Regions from separate parts of the Homo sapiens genome. Here region 1 is linked to region 2. The links are contacts of gene promoters, found by promoter capture Hi-C in blood cells and fetal thymus (Javierre and others, 2016). All regions are on one chromosome and are shown on one strand. The core of a region is centred on a gene start or on the middle of the fragment in contact, and the rest is flanking DNA. Distances in the headings are between cores, read along the strand shown. Region 1 overlaps LINC01801 (long intergenic non-protein coding RNA 1801). Region 2 holds the start of ZNF30 (zinc finger protein 30).

The links. The method cuts DNA at HindIII sites, captures the fragments that hold promoters and counts their contacts. A CHiCAGO score of 5 or more calls a contact.
Region 1: a contact is called between a fragment that was not itself captured here and the fragment with the promoter of ZNF30 in region 2, in 5 of 17 cell types (naive CD4 T cells, total CD8 T cells, non-activated CD4 T cells and 2 more). The highest score is 6.3, in naive CD4 T cells.

Annotation. Positions count from the first base shown.
Region 1 is chr19:34,812,996-34,818,973 of GRCh38, forward strand. It overlaps LINC01801 (long intergenic non-protein coding RNA 1801), which reads right to left. Exons shown (of 6, transcript NR_033982.1): 5 at 5,592-5,771; 6 at 3,159-4,495. Among named protein-coding and RNA genes, the nearest start is that of LINC01801, 17 kb to the right of the region's middle. The HindIII fragment of the contact is 211 bases long and covers 4,365-4,575 here.
Region 2 is chr19:34,925,087-34,931,597 of GRCh38, forward strand. It overlaps ZNF30 (zinc finger protein 30), which reads left to right and starts at 1,817. Exons shown (of 5, transcript NM_194325.3): 1 at 1,817-2,130; 2 at 4,798-4,870. The coding sequence starts at 4,862. It overlaps ZNF30-AS1 (ZNF30 antisense RNA 1), which reads right to left and starts at 1,740. Exons shown (of 3, transcript NR_110749.1): 1 at 1,643-1,740. The HindIII fragment of the contact is 20,354 bases long and covers 1-4,579 here.

The sequences.
Region 1 (5,978 bases), core at 3,220-5,719, 110 kb before region 2:
GTGAGAAGACAAATGCCTGATGGGGTTCTGCTGACAATTGTTGATCTCCGTCCCACATCTTTTAAGGAGACTGGAGCCCAGTGTGGCCTGTGGGTCCCTTATGAGTTGAACCTTTAGACCTCCCAGTAGGCAGTGGCTGTACTTATTACAGATGTGCATGGTGCTAAGTACTCTGAGAACTACAAAAATGATCATACTTGATGCACATATGATGGGGAGGCACCACAGTCAGGTGGTTAATGCATGAGCTCTGGAATCAGACAGAATGGGTTCAAATCCTGGCTTCTCCACTACCTTATGACTGACCTGAGAAAGGTTCTAAAGTTGCAAAAGGAAGTGAAACCAAATTTGCCAAAGGAAGTTAAGAGAAACCTGTCTGCCAGGAAGAGATATTGTGGAGTGTGGCATCTGGGCAGGAGGGCACTCTGCCCCCACCTCAGAACACTTTGTATCCCAGGTGATGCTGGGGACTCAGGCCTTTCCAAGGTGGCCATAAAGAAGGCTCATTTTGCTTCAGGATTTGGACAGGTGATAGACAGATCCTGTTTTGTTTGTTTGTTTGTTTGTTTTAAAGGTATCCCCAGACTATATCTACCAGCATGGAGATGGGGTAGGGTACAGAGGCAAACAGATGTCCTCTGTGGTGGCTGCCTAAAAGGAAGAGGCTAGGGTAAGTTTAGCACATGCCCTGTTGCTGCCATCCTGAGCCTCCTGAGTGCCTCAGTATCTGCAAGACTGAGCAAAACCCTGTTTCTTCCCATCCTTGACTCTCTTACTCTGACCTCCAGTGAGCTGGGCCCTCACTCTGGCACAATCCAGGTTGCTCCAGCCCTCTGACTTTGAGCAGATTCTGCCCTCACGTGACTCACAGAGAAAGGGCTAGTGGATTCCCAGGCACTGGTTGCTGAAGCTGCCTCTCCAGGCCAGGAGTTGAGAAGCCTGCAGTCCTGGTGCCCTGGTGGAGCCAGCTCTGCTGGAACTAAGTACCCACAGTCCTGAACAGTTCCCACGTAGCATGGGGCCCCATCCAGTGGCAAACATCTGCAACTAGCAGGTGGAAGTTCCAAAGGAACAGCCAGAAAGTCTCACTGGGGAAAGGCCCCTGGGTTTCCACCTTTGCCCTGTGGTGACTTTCCTTCACATCCTTTGCAGTGCACCCTCTGTCATGTAGCCCAGGGAGGCATCACAAATATCAGGATGAAGAGTGCATGGTTTGCCTTGGAAGATTAGGTAGCTAGGAAGCATCTCCAAACTGCATTCTACATCCTCAGTATCAGATAGGTATGCCCTGCTTTTCAAGGGCAATGCTTTTAGGAAGCTTCTCCCCCAGCCTCACTGAATGCCAGTCCCCTGACTATCACCCCACTGGTTCATCCAGACCACTGTGCTCCTCCCTCACTTCTACAGATACCTCAGTCTTCACTGACTAACTGATATGGTTTGGCTCTATGTCCCCACCCAAATCTCATTTTGAATTGTAATCTGAATTGTAATTCCCATGTGTGGAGGGAGGGACTTGGTGGGAGGTGACTGGATTGTAGGGGTGGTCTCCCCCATGCTGTTCTCATGATAGTGAGGGAATTCTCATGAGATCTGACGGTTTATAAGTGGCAGTTTCCTCTGCACTCTCTCCTGCCACCAAGTACGACATGCCTTGCTTCCCCTTTGCCTTCTGCCATGATTGTAAGTTTCCTGTGGCCTCCCAGCCATGTGGAACTGTGAGTTAATTAAACCTCTTTTGTTTATAAATTACCCAGCCCCACATAGTTCTTCATAGCAGTGTGAAAACAGATGAATATATCAACCCATCATTAACTGGCCAACCTTATCACTTCCACTGCCCAGTCAGCCCATCTGCAGACTTGACCTCCCAGCCTGCTTTGAACCTTTGAGATGACCGACATGGACACTACTATTCCCTGGGTCTCATCTCCTGGTCCCCCCAGGACCCAGGGTTAGCCTGGAAGACTCAAGCTCTGGGCTAGGTTTCCTCTGGTCTTGGAACTCCCATTTGACTGGCTCATTGCAGTGTGGAGTGGACAGCCCCCTGCAAAAGGCAGTCCCCACTAACCCACCTATGTTTATGGTAAACAGCCCTACCCCACTTTGAACCTTTCCTTTAGCCCAGAAGCCACCTCTCAGTCACATTTGGAGCTCCTAAAGGGCAGCAGCAAAGAGTCAGTCTTCTAGGATACCTGTCTGCACCATCATACTTATCACTACTTCAGCAATTGTCTGTTTTCTAGTAGCTAGGACCTTGACCAACTGGGCAGCCAAGTCTGCCTTTAACTCTGATGAAATCAATATGGTTACCATGTCCTCTTTCTAGCCTCCCCCTGGCAGGATCCCCCAATGTATTTGATAGCATTTACCCTTTGAGAAACGTAAAATCTCAATACAAGCTCTAAACTGAGCCTTTACTGCAGCCCAGACACCCAATGGGAGCATAATGCCATCAGATTTTGCGTACGTGTTACCTCCATATCCATCTTTGATATCTCTGCTAGCACCCACTCAGCCTTGGGTGGCACCTCGGGTCCTTTTCCCATTTGCACAGCCACTACTTCTAGCTCTGGAGCCATCACTGGATGCTCAGCATCAGGCACAGTTCACCTTTTGCTAACCCCTCTCTCGACCCATTTCCATTCATGGACTCTGGGGCTTCTTTGGATAATGACAGCTCTAGGACCAGTGTGTCTGCCCCAGACCCAGCTCCACATCTGAAGCACTCAGCTTTAGAACAGGGCCTAGAGGGGCATGCAGCACCTTAGTTTATGTTGGGGAGGCTTACACATGAGCACCGGGGTTCCTGCAAGCCTACAGCACCTCTGGTACAGTTGGAGAGGGCAGTACTACTGAAAGCAAAAACTCCTGGGAAACACTTTCCTCCCTGCCTACAGTCAGAGCAGCTGGGGCCTGTCCTGCCAAAGCACACCTCTTAGAACATCACTGAGAAGAAACATGTTCCAGAAGGCACCTCTGTTCCTTCTTGTGTTCATAACACCTGGAAACCATCTGGCCAAAGCACGTCTGTTGTGGTTGGAGGAGCCCGCACATACCAGTGCTTGGGACACTTCTGTCTTGCAGACAGACCACCTGGAATGCAGCTGGCCAGAGCACATCTGCATCCCTCAAAGGGAAGGAGAAAGCAGCACATCTATGCTTGGAGGCCTTTATGTTTCCACCACAAGCAGAGCACCCTGTTGCACCTTTCCAAGCACCTATGTTGCAGTAGCAGGGGACAACACACTACCTGTGACTGCAAGTCTTCTCTTCTTGTGTCTGGTCAGAGCGCTTGGGGCCCATATGGCCTGGGCAAACCTGTTACTGCTGGAGAAGCCTGCACAACAGAGAAGAAACATGTGCCCCAAGATACTTCTGTTCATGACTTCTGTCAAACGCCTTTGGACCACTCAGCTTGAGCACATCTGTTTCTGTTGGAGGGGCTGGTGCCATATCTGTGACTGAAGAAACTACTGTTTATGAATACAATCAGAGCATGTGAGGGCCATAAGTCCAGAGTATAGGCAGTGCAATGCCTGCAATGGGAGGAGATGGCACCATACCTGTAATGGGAGGAGATGGCACCATATATGGGTTTGTTTGGGGGGGACACTTCTGTTCATGAACACAGCCAGAACACCTGGGGTCCACAAGTCCTGAATTCAGGTGTACAATGGGAGGAAACAGCACCCCACCTGTGCCTGCAGAAACTTCTGTCCATGAATAGTCAGAGAGCCTGAGGTCCACAAGTCCAGATTAAAGATGGTGCAATGGCAGGACACAGTCCCACACCTATGCTTACTCGCGAATACAGCCAGAGTGCCTGGGTTCCACAAGTGAGGATTCAGATGGCAAGTAGAGGGTACAGTACCATTCAAGTGTTTGGGTACCCTTCTCACCATCATTCAGAGCAACTGGGACACTGGTGGCTGGAGCACACTTGTTGCAGTCAGATGGGAGAACATGTTGAAGAAGATACTTCCATTCTCACCTTCAATCAGAACACCAGGGGCCTAAGCCAGGGTACCTTCCCTCTTTCATTTTGGAGAAAACAACATCACTGAGAAAATATCTGTGCTTCAGGACCTTTTCCACCTGCTTTTGATCAGGTCAAATGTGCTTCTGTGGTGGGCACGGCAAGCACAGCCTCGTCTTTGGGGCACCCTCGGCACCTGCACAGGGATTCTTTGGGGACAGAAGCATGCAGCATCACCCTATTTGTTTTCTTCTCATGTAAGACTTAGGGTCCTCAGTGACCAAAAGCAAAAGCTTCCTCTAGAAATGGCAGGTGACCACTGTTCCCCATGATTTGATCTTGTTCTGCTGGGAGCAGTTTCTGCTCCTTCTAGTTACGGCAAACAAGCTTCACCTGCCCTTTGTCCTTCTAGCACAAACTGGAAGCCCAAGACCCTGGGGTGTTTGTGAATGTGTCCAAGGACTTGGGTTCAGATGAGCCAAGTCAGAAGTCGACACACTAGCCTAAGATGTTCACCTGTGGAGAGAAGAGAGAGATGGGTGAGTATCAGCCGTGCAACACTACACTCTAGTTTCAGTGTTATCCTGGAAGACCTAAGCTTTGGGGGGGTTTCCTCCTGTCTTGGAACTGTCAGGACACCCACTGCTATCTATGTCTGCCATGTTTCCTCTGCTCATGTGTTTTTGCTCTAACTCAATGATGGAGAAAATACTGACTTGTATAAGCCATGATTGTTGAGCCAGGCTTAACTGTGCAAAGTTTCTGTGGCCCAGGGCCCAGGATCTAGAACATGGAGTTTAAATGTCTTTTTTGCTTGTTTAATTTAGTTGTATGCCAGTAATTCACACACATTCACAATTTTTTTTTTGGCTGCAGGGGGTTGTGGGGGAGAGATGGGGATCTCATCATGTTGCCCAGCCTGGTCTCAAACTTGGCTCAAGTGGTCCTCCCGCCTTGGCCTCCCAAAGAGTTGGGATAACAGGTGTGAGCCACCACGTCCAGCAACATTCACACTTTCACCTATGGATGATTGGCTTGGCAATCAGGCTTTTGGGCCTGGAGGAAAAAAGGAAGAAAGAACTCACGCATGACTGCTCCGTAATTTAAAAAAAATTTAAGTCTGTTAGGATGTAATAGATTACATAGATATTGGTATCATGTTGCTTTGACACATTACAAATGATTATCTTTTAAGGTAAATAGCAGGATAGGTTCTATTTGGAAAAATAACTGGTCTATCTCGAGTCCTAACCACAAAAATATCGTCACAAGATTTATAATTTCACACAGACTTGGCTGACCTTGGAGTTGTACTGTGCTGAAAATACAATCTTTTTAAAGTATTTTACAACCCATGAAGGTATCTTAAGATGGTGGAAAGAAAAATAAAGTACAAGCATTTCCTTCAGCTGCTTACAGATTACAGTTGTCCCTTGAACAATGCGTGGGGGTAAGGGGTGCTGCTTCCCCCACGCAGTCCAAAATGTCTGCATGACTTGTGACTTCCCCAAAACTTAACCACTAGTAGCCTACTGTTGACTGGAGGCCTCACTGATAACATGAACAGTTAACACATTCTGTATGTTATATGTATTATATACAGCATACTTACAATAAGCTAGAGAAAAGAAAATGGATGAGTGGATCATCATAAAGGTTTCATCCTTGTCATTTTCATGTTGAGTAGGCTGAGGAGGAGGAGGAGGATGAAAAGGAGGGGTTGGTCTTGCTGTCTCAGGAGAGGCCGCAGTGGAAGAAAATCCACATGTAAGTGGATCTGTGCAGTTCAGACCTGTGTTGTTCAAGAGTCAATGTATTATATTAAACAGTGCTAGGTCTTGGTGATATAGAATTCAAAGATTTATCTCTTGCAGCCCAGCAATTTACAGTATAGCAGAGAGAGACAGATAGATAAACCAAATATTACACCTGGAAAGATAGTGGTGGCGATACGGGAGTAGGTAAGAAGGACATAAAACTAGGTGTGAGAGAGATGGAA
Region 2 (6,511 bases), core at 567-3,066:
AACCTCCAGGGGAGTATACAGACGGGCGGGCTGTGGGGCTCTGACCCCATGGCAGTGTCTAGGGGTGAATGTTTATAGCTGAAGCCCCAGTGGGCGTGTTACAGGATGCTCTTTAGCTGTCCGCAGGCGGCTTATGTTAGTCAATTCAATTAGATCCCTGCGTTATCGCAAGGACAGAGGGCTTTCATATCCCGGGGTTCCTGTCTTGGTGTACCAGAAGAATCAGATCACACATGGGCTTGGAGGATGACTGCAGGGTTTTGAGTGGAAGTAGCTCTCAACAGTTGGGGGAGCCAGAAGGGAAATGGTTTTCCCCTGGAATCGGGCTGCTCCGCAGCACCGGCTCTCCTTGGACTGCCCCAGCCAAACTCCGCGTCCTTCTGGTGGGTGGCCTGCCCGCGTGCCAGCGTCTGTCATGTCTTCTTCCGCCAACATGTTCCTCTGGATGTCCAGCGGCTTGTGTGTCTGCTTGCTAGGGTCTCAGAGTATTTATAGGGACAGGATGGGGGCGGGAACAGGATGGGGGCGTGGCAGGCCAGGGTGGTCTTGGGAAACGCAACATTTGGGCAGGAAAACAAAAATGCCTGCCCTCACCTAGGTCAGTTGGCACAGGGCCAGGGGTGGAGCCCTAGCCAGGGACCACACCCTCCTGTACCCAGCACCTCCCTTTCCCCCTTCCATATCATTTAAAGGGACCCCGCCCTTCCCTCCCCAGCACTCCCCTTCCCCACCTCCTTATCAATGTCATCACCCTGGACTGACTCCAGGAATCACTGTAATGTGGGCTTAATAAGAACAGAGCTCGGCTGGCCGCGGTGGCTCACCCTGTCATCCCAGCACTTTGGGAGGCTGAGGCGGGTGGATCGCTTGAGCCCAGGAGTTCGAGACTAGCCTGGGCAAGATGGCAAAACCCCATTTCTACAAAAAATATACAAAAATTAGCCAGGTGTAGTGGCGCGCCCCTGTAGTCTCAGCTACTCTGGAGGCCGAGGTGGGAGAATCACTTGAACCTGGGAGGCAGAGGTTACAGTAAGCCGAGATAGCGCCACTGCATTCCAGTCTGAGCGACAGAGGGAGACCCTGTCTCAAAACAAAACAAAAACAAAACAAACAAAAAGCGGAGCTGACAGTCAAGGTGAATTTCACGTTTGCCTGTATTCAGTTTTAGCATTACATAAACCAAAAGAAGAATGCCATAAAGGCTACAGGCAGCTAATACAGAGAGGTGTTACTGGAAAAGGAACCAGAAAGAGTAAATATCTCCTAAACGTATGATGGGACAGAAAGATAAATGCCTATTACATATAGTTAATATCTGTTTGATTAGCCTTATTTACATTCTCCTTTTAAAAGGTCTTACATTTAGCATCTTAGATAGAACCCACAAAATTTAAATATTTAATAGAAACTTAAAATTCCTGTATCAGAGGACAGAAATATATTTTTCTCACACGTGATTAGTCTAATTGCCACTATTAATCCTATTAATATTCTGTTAAATAATAGCATTTCTGTAGCGAAAAGCAAACAGTACGGAAAGATAATTTCAAACACCTAGTTTTCATATTTTTGTGTTAAAGTAATAACATATTTTGGTATAGATTATCATTTTTTGTTTGTTTTTGTTTTTGCTTTTTCTGACCTGGTGTGTTAATGCCCTGGGTTGGCCCTCTAAGAAGCTGGCCACCTACTTCGGGCCTCAGGTGTCAGACGCCCCAGCTTCGAGGTCTATGGCTCCCAGCAACTCGAGCGCCTGCGCCTGCGCATTCTCAGCCGGACGGGAGCGCCCAGAAGTCTCCGGGCGCCGGTGGGCGGCCTTGTGGACTGCGCCGGGCATGCTCGGCGGTGTGACGGCTCAGGACTGCATTTCCCAGAGGCTGCAGCTATCCGGCCAATGTAGCCTGAAACTACATTTCTCAGCGGCCACTGGAACGACCTCAATCTCTGCCTCCTCGCCAGTTCATTGTGGTCGTTGACCCGGCAGCGAGCTTTGGAGTTCATCGAGGGAGAAGTCAGCGCCCAGCTCCGAGGTTGGAGCAGCCCCGCCGGGCAACTTGAATTTCTGCAAACGAACACAGCACCGGGAGCTCTGCAGACCTGTGTCGGCGCGGAACCCGGACTGAGACATGCGTGAGCGTTGGGTGGACCGGGCGAGGATCCCGGGCCGGCGAGTGCGGGAGCGGCAGGGCAGGGAGGGTGCGTCGGCCGGGGCCGGTGTGCATCCGCGAAGACTGGGTGCATGGCCTCCATGCGAACCTGAGCTATTAATATTTGTTACTATTTTGGATAAAATCACTGTAATTGATTTATGTAAAGGAGCAAAAGACTCTTCAACTCTCAGTTTAAAAAGGAAACGATAGTTATGATACCTTTTGCATGCAGCGGGAAGAAATGGGATTGCCAGGAAGCCTCTTCTTGTTTGGAAAAAACTGTATAAAGTATTTACACCTTTTAAAGATGAGAGCAATGTCATCTGAAAATTATCAGTGCAGGGAAAAGGACTTCAAAGGATCTGTTGTGCAGATTACTTAACTAATGACAAAATTATGTAAGAAAGGAGAGCAAGATGACAGCTGTAAACATTTCCATCAATCTCCATATTGCACAGAAATAGGACCCAGCTTTTTCTTAAGGTTCTTCAATTTTGCATTATCCCACAGCAGTAGCTCTCTCTCTCTAGCTGCTAGGGGACAGAGGAAATTGAAATGTCAGAGAATCTTTTCTGTTGGTTTTTTATTTGTTTGTTTTTAAAGAAGAGTTGCTCTTAATTTTTTAGTTAGAATTAAAAGAAAGCATGCCAGAGAAACTTACGTTTTAAGTAAAAAGTGGAAACAGGTCGGGTGCCATGGCTCATGCCTGTAATCCCAGCACTTTGGGAAGCTGAGGCGGGTGGATTGCCTGAGCTCAGGAGTTCGAGACCACCAACATGGCAACATGGTGAAACCCCGTCTCTACTAAAAATATAAAAATTAGCCAGGCATGGTGGCGTGCGCTTGTAGTCACAGCTACTTGAGAGGCGGAGGTGGGAGAAGTGCTTGAAGCTGGGAGGCGGCGGAGGTTGCAGTGAGTGGAGATGGCACCACCGCAATCCAGCCTGGGCGACAGAGCGAGATCCCTTCTCTAAAAAAAAAAAAATATATATATATATATATATATATATATATATATAGATAGATAGATAGATAGATACATAAATTAAATTAAGTGGAAACAAGTGTTTAATTAAAATGAAATAAAGGATGTATAATGTTTACGTAATAACTCCAATGCAGTAGTGCCCCCTTAATCGGCAGTTTCACTTTCTTCACTTTGTTACCCTCAGTCAACCATGATCTGAAAATAGGTGATTTTGGTACAATAAGATATTTTGAGAGAGAGGGGCCATGTTCACATAACTTTTATTACAGTATGCTATTATAGTTGTTCTATTTTATTATTAGTTATTGCTATTACTCAATTATGGTGGCCGGGTGCGGTGGCTCACGCCTGTAATCCCAGCACTTTGGGATACTGAGATGGGTGGATCAATTGAGGTCAGGAGTTCGAGACCAGCCTGGCCAACATGGTGAAACCCTGTCTCTAGTAAAAATACAAAAATTAGCCAGGCGTGGTGGTGGGCACCTGTAATCCCAGCTACTTGGGAGGCTCCCAGGAGGTGGAGGTTGCAGTGAGCCAAGATCACACCACTGCACTCCAGCCTGGGCAACAGAGTGAGACCCTGTCTCAAACAAACAAACAAACAGAAAAATAAAAATCTCTTATGGTGCCTAATTTATAAATTAAACTTAATCATAGGTGTGTATGTATAAGAAAAAACATAGTATATATGGGGTTCCGTCAGACATCTACTGAGGATCTTAGAGTGTATCTCCCCCCTGTGGATAAGAGGGAGCTACCATAGTAAGAGCTAACTCGGCTGCGCGCGGTGGCTCACGCCTGTAATCCCAGCACTTTGGGAGGCTGAGGCGGGCGGATCACGAAGTCAGGAGATGGAGACCATCCTGGCCAACATGGTGAAATTCCGTCTCTACTAAAAATACAAAACTTAGCTGGGCGTGACTATGCGCCTGTAGTCCTAGCTACTCGGGAGGGAGGCAGAGGCAGGAGAATCACTTGAATCTGGGTGGCGTAGGTTGCCGTGAGCCAAGATGGCGCCACTGCACTCACTCCAGCCTGGGTGACAGGGCGAGACTCCGTCTCAAAAAATAAAACAAAACAAAACAAAACAAAAGAGCCAACTCATGTTAAGCAAGTATTCTATTAACTTTTGGGGTGGGTTTTCTTATTCTTCAGGACAACCACATGTTGGAGCTGATACTCCTATTACTATTTTAGTGATGAGAAAACTGAGCCATATTAGTAACTGCCTGATCATTTTCTCCTATGTTCTCTACCTCCCGTGTCTTGACCAACCTCAGATTTATACTGTCACCATTAAAGAAGCTCTGGATTGGGTGATATGGACTCTTTCTTAGGCTTAGAACGTGGGAATGGAGTGAGGAGAATCTGTTCAAGAGAAGACTGTGCAACCCAATTTGAGACCTAGATCAACATTCCCAAAATGGGGGCCTGGTGGGAAAGCTTGTGTCTGATTCTGCCTTCCTTAAGAAGTGCCACACCTCTGCGATCAACTCTGTACAGCTTAGTTAACTGGGGCTTGAATTCCACTGTTCTCCAAATTTTGTTTGAGGGTGTTTGTAGCACAGTTTGGAAGCTGAAATGAAGGGACAGGAAGGTTTATTAATGTATGTCATTGAGAACACTAAAGCCTCCTTTTCTCCTCTCTGGATTTTCTAGCTTTTGAACTTCTCAGATAGAGGAACCCCAGTGAAGACTGATCAGTTCTTACAATTCTCAAAGCATGGCCCATGTAAGTTGGTGTTTCTTCTTGAAATATGGGGATTTTTATATTACGTGGCTATTTTCCTTAATTGACCTGAAGCATTCTTCATCAGAATGTACCATCTAATTGCCTACTTGATTCCTTCTGTTTGGCGGAATGATGTCAAAGTATCGTTTCCTCCTTACGAGGTCCTCATTTCTAATCGGTGTTCATGAATTCATTGAGCAAGTTACGAAGCAGGTAAATAGTAAGTCTTAGCTGAAAGGCTGTGATAGAGCAGTGGAGGATTGAAGTCCCGTGGCAGAAGTATTTGAGCTTCCTACATCCATCTGTGGTTTGATGAGTTTGATCTGTTGGCTTCATCTGGCCACACATCAGAAGATTTGAAGTTTTCCACAGAGCTGATAAGATGGAATTTTGTATTGATTGGTCTCAATATGATGAGATAACATGCTCTATGAGGCTTTTAAGATTGAGTGGGGATGTGATTATGATGTGAAACATTGATATCATGGTTCTTCTTGGGATGCCTGAGAGTGATACTAAGGTCAATTTTGTTATGGAATGGGACCTGCCAGACTTGGACAACATGCATTTGGTTCTGAGTCATTTTCACCCTAATCCACTAACTCAAGAACAGCCAAATGGCCAGGTGCAGTGGCTCACACCTGTAAACCCAGGACCTTGGGAGCCCCAGGTGGGAGGATCACTTGAGCCCAGGAGTTCAAGACCAGCCTGGGCAGCATGGCAAGACCCTGTCTCTACCAAAAAAAATTTTTTTTAATTAGCCAGGCATGGGGGCACATGCCTGTAGTCCTAACTACTTGGGACCCTCAGACAGAAGGACACTTGGAGCCCAGGAGTTCAAGATTGCAGTGAGCTATGGTCATAGCACTGCACTACAGACTGGGCAACACAGTGAGACTGTGTCTCAAAAAAAAATTTAAAAAAACAGCAGCCAAAGTATTAAGTGAAGGATCTTGTATGACACTATCAGCATATTGTTATCAGTAGTAGATGAACAGATTACCAGAACTGGGGAAAACTGAGGCATTTGTTACAGTCTTCGTTTATAAGTATAAAATCATTACTTTTTTTTTTCTTTTTTTCTTTTTTTTTTTTTTTTGAGACTGAGTCTCGCTCTGTCACCCAGGCTAGAGTACAGTGGCACAATTTTGACTCACTGCAACCTCCACCTCCTGGATTCAAGTGATTCTGCTGCCTCAGCTTCCCAAGTAGCTGGGATTACAGGCACATGCCACAACGCCCAGCTAATTTTTGTATTTTTAGTAGAGATGAGTTTCACCGCATAGGCCAGGCTGGTCTCGAACTCCTGACCTCGTGTGATCCACCCACCTCAGCCTCGCAAAGTTACTAACCTTTAATACAGATCCACAAGATAACTTTTATGTCACTTTGGAAAAAAGTATTTATTAATATAAGGAAAAACACTTATGATCTGACATAATGAACTTGAAGCTTGAGGAGTTATTCAACAAATTTGTGTCATGGCTATTTTCTAAGACAGATTTTATTCTACAGTTGGAGAAAGGAATCATAGCTATTTTCTTCTTAAAGGGAAAGTAATATAGAGACTAATTGTTTTTGAGAATTTGTTTCATTGGATACCTAGCAGGCCATATCTTTGTATGTACTCTTTTACTTAAC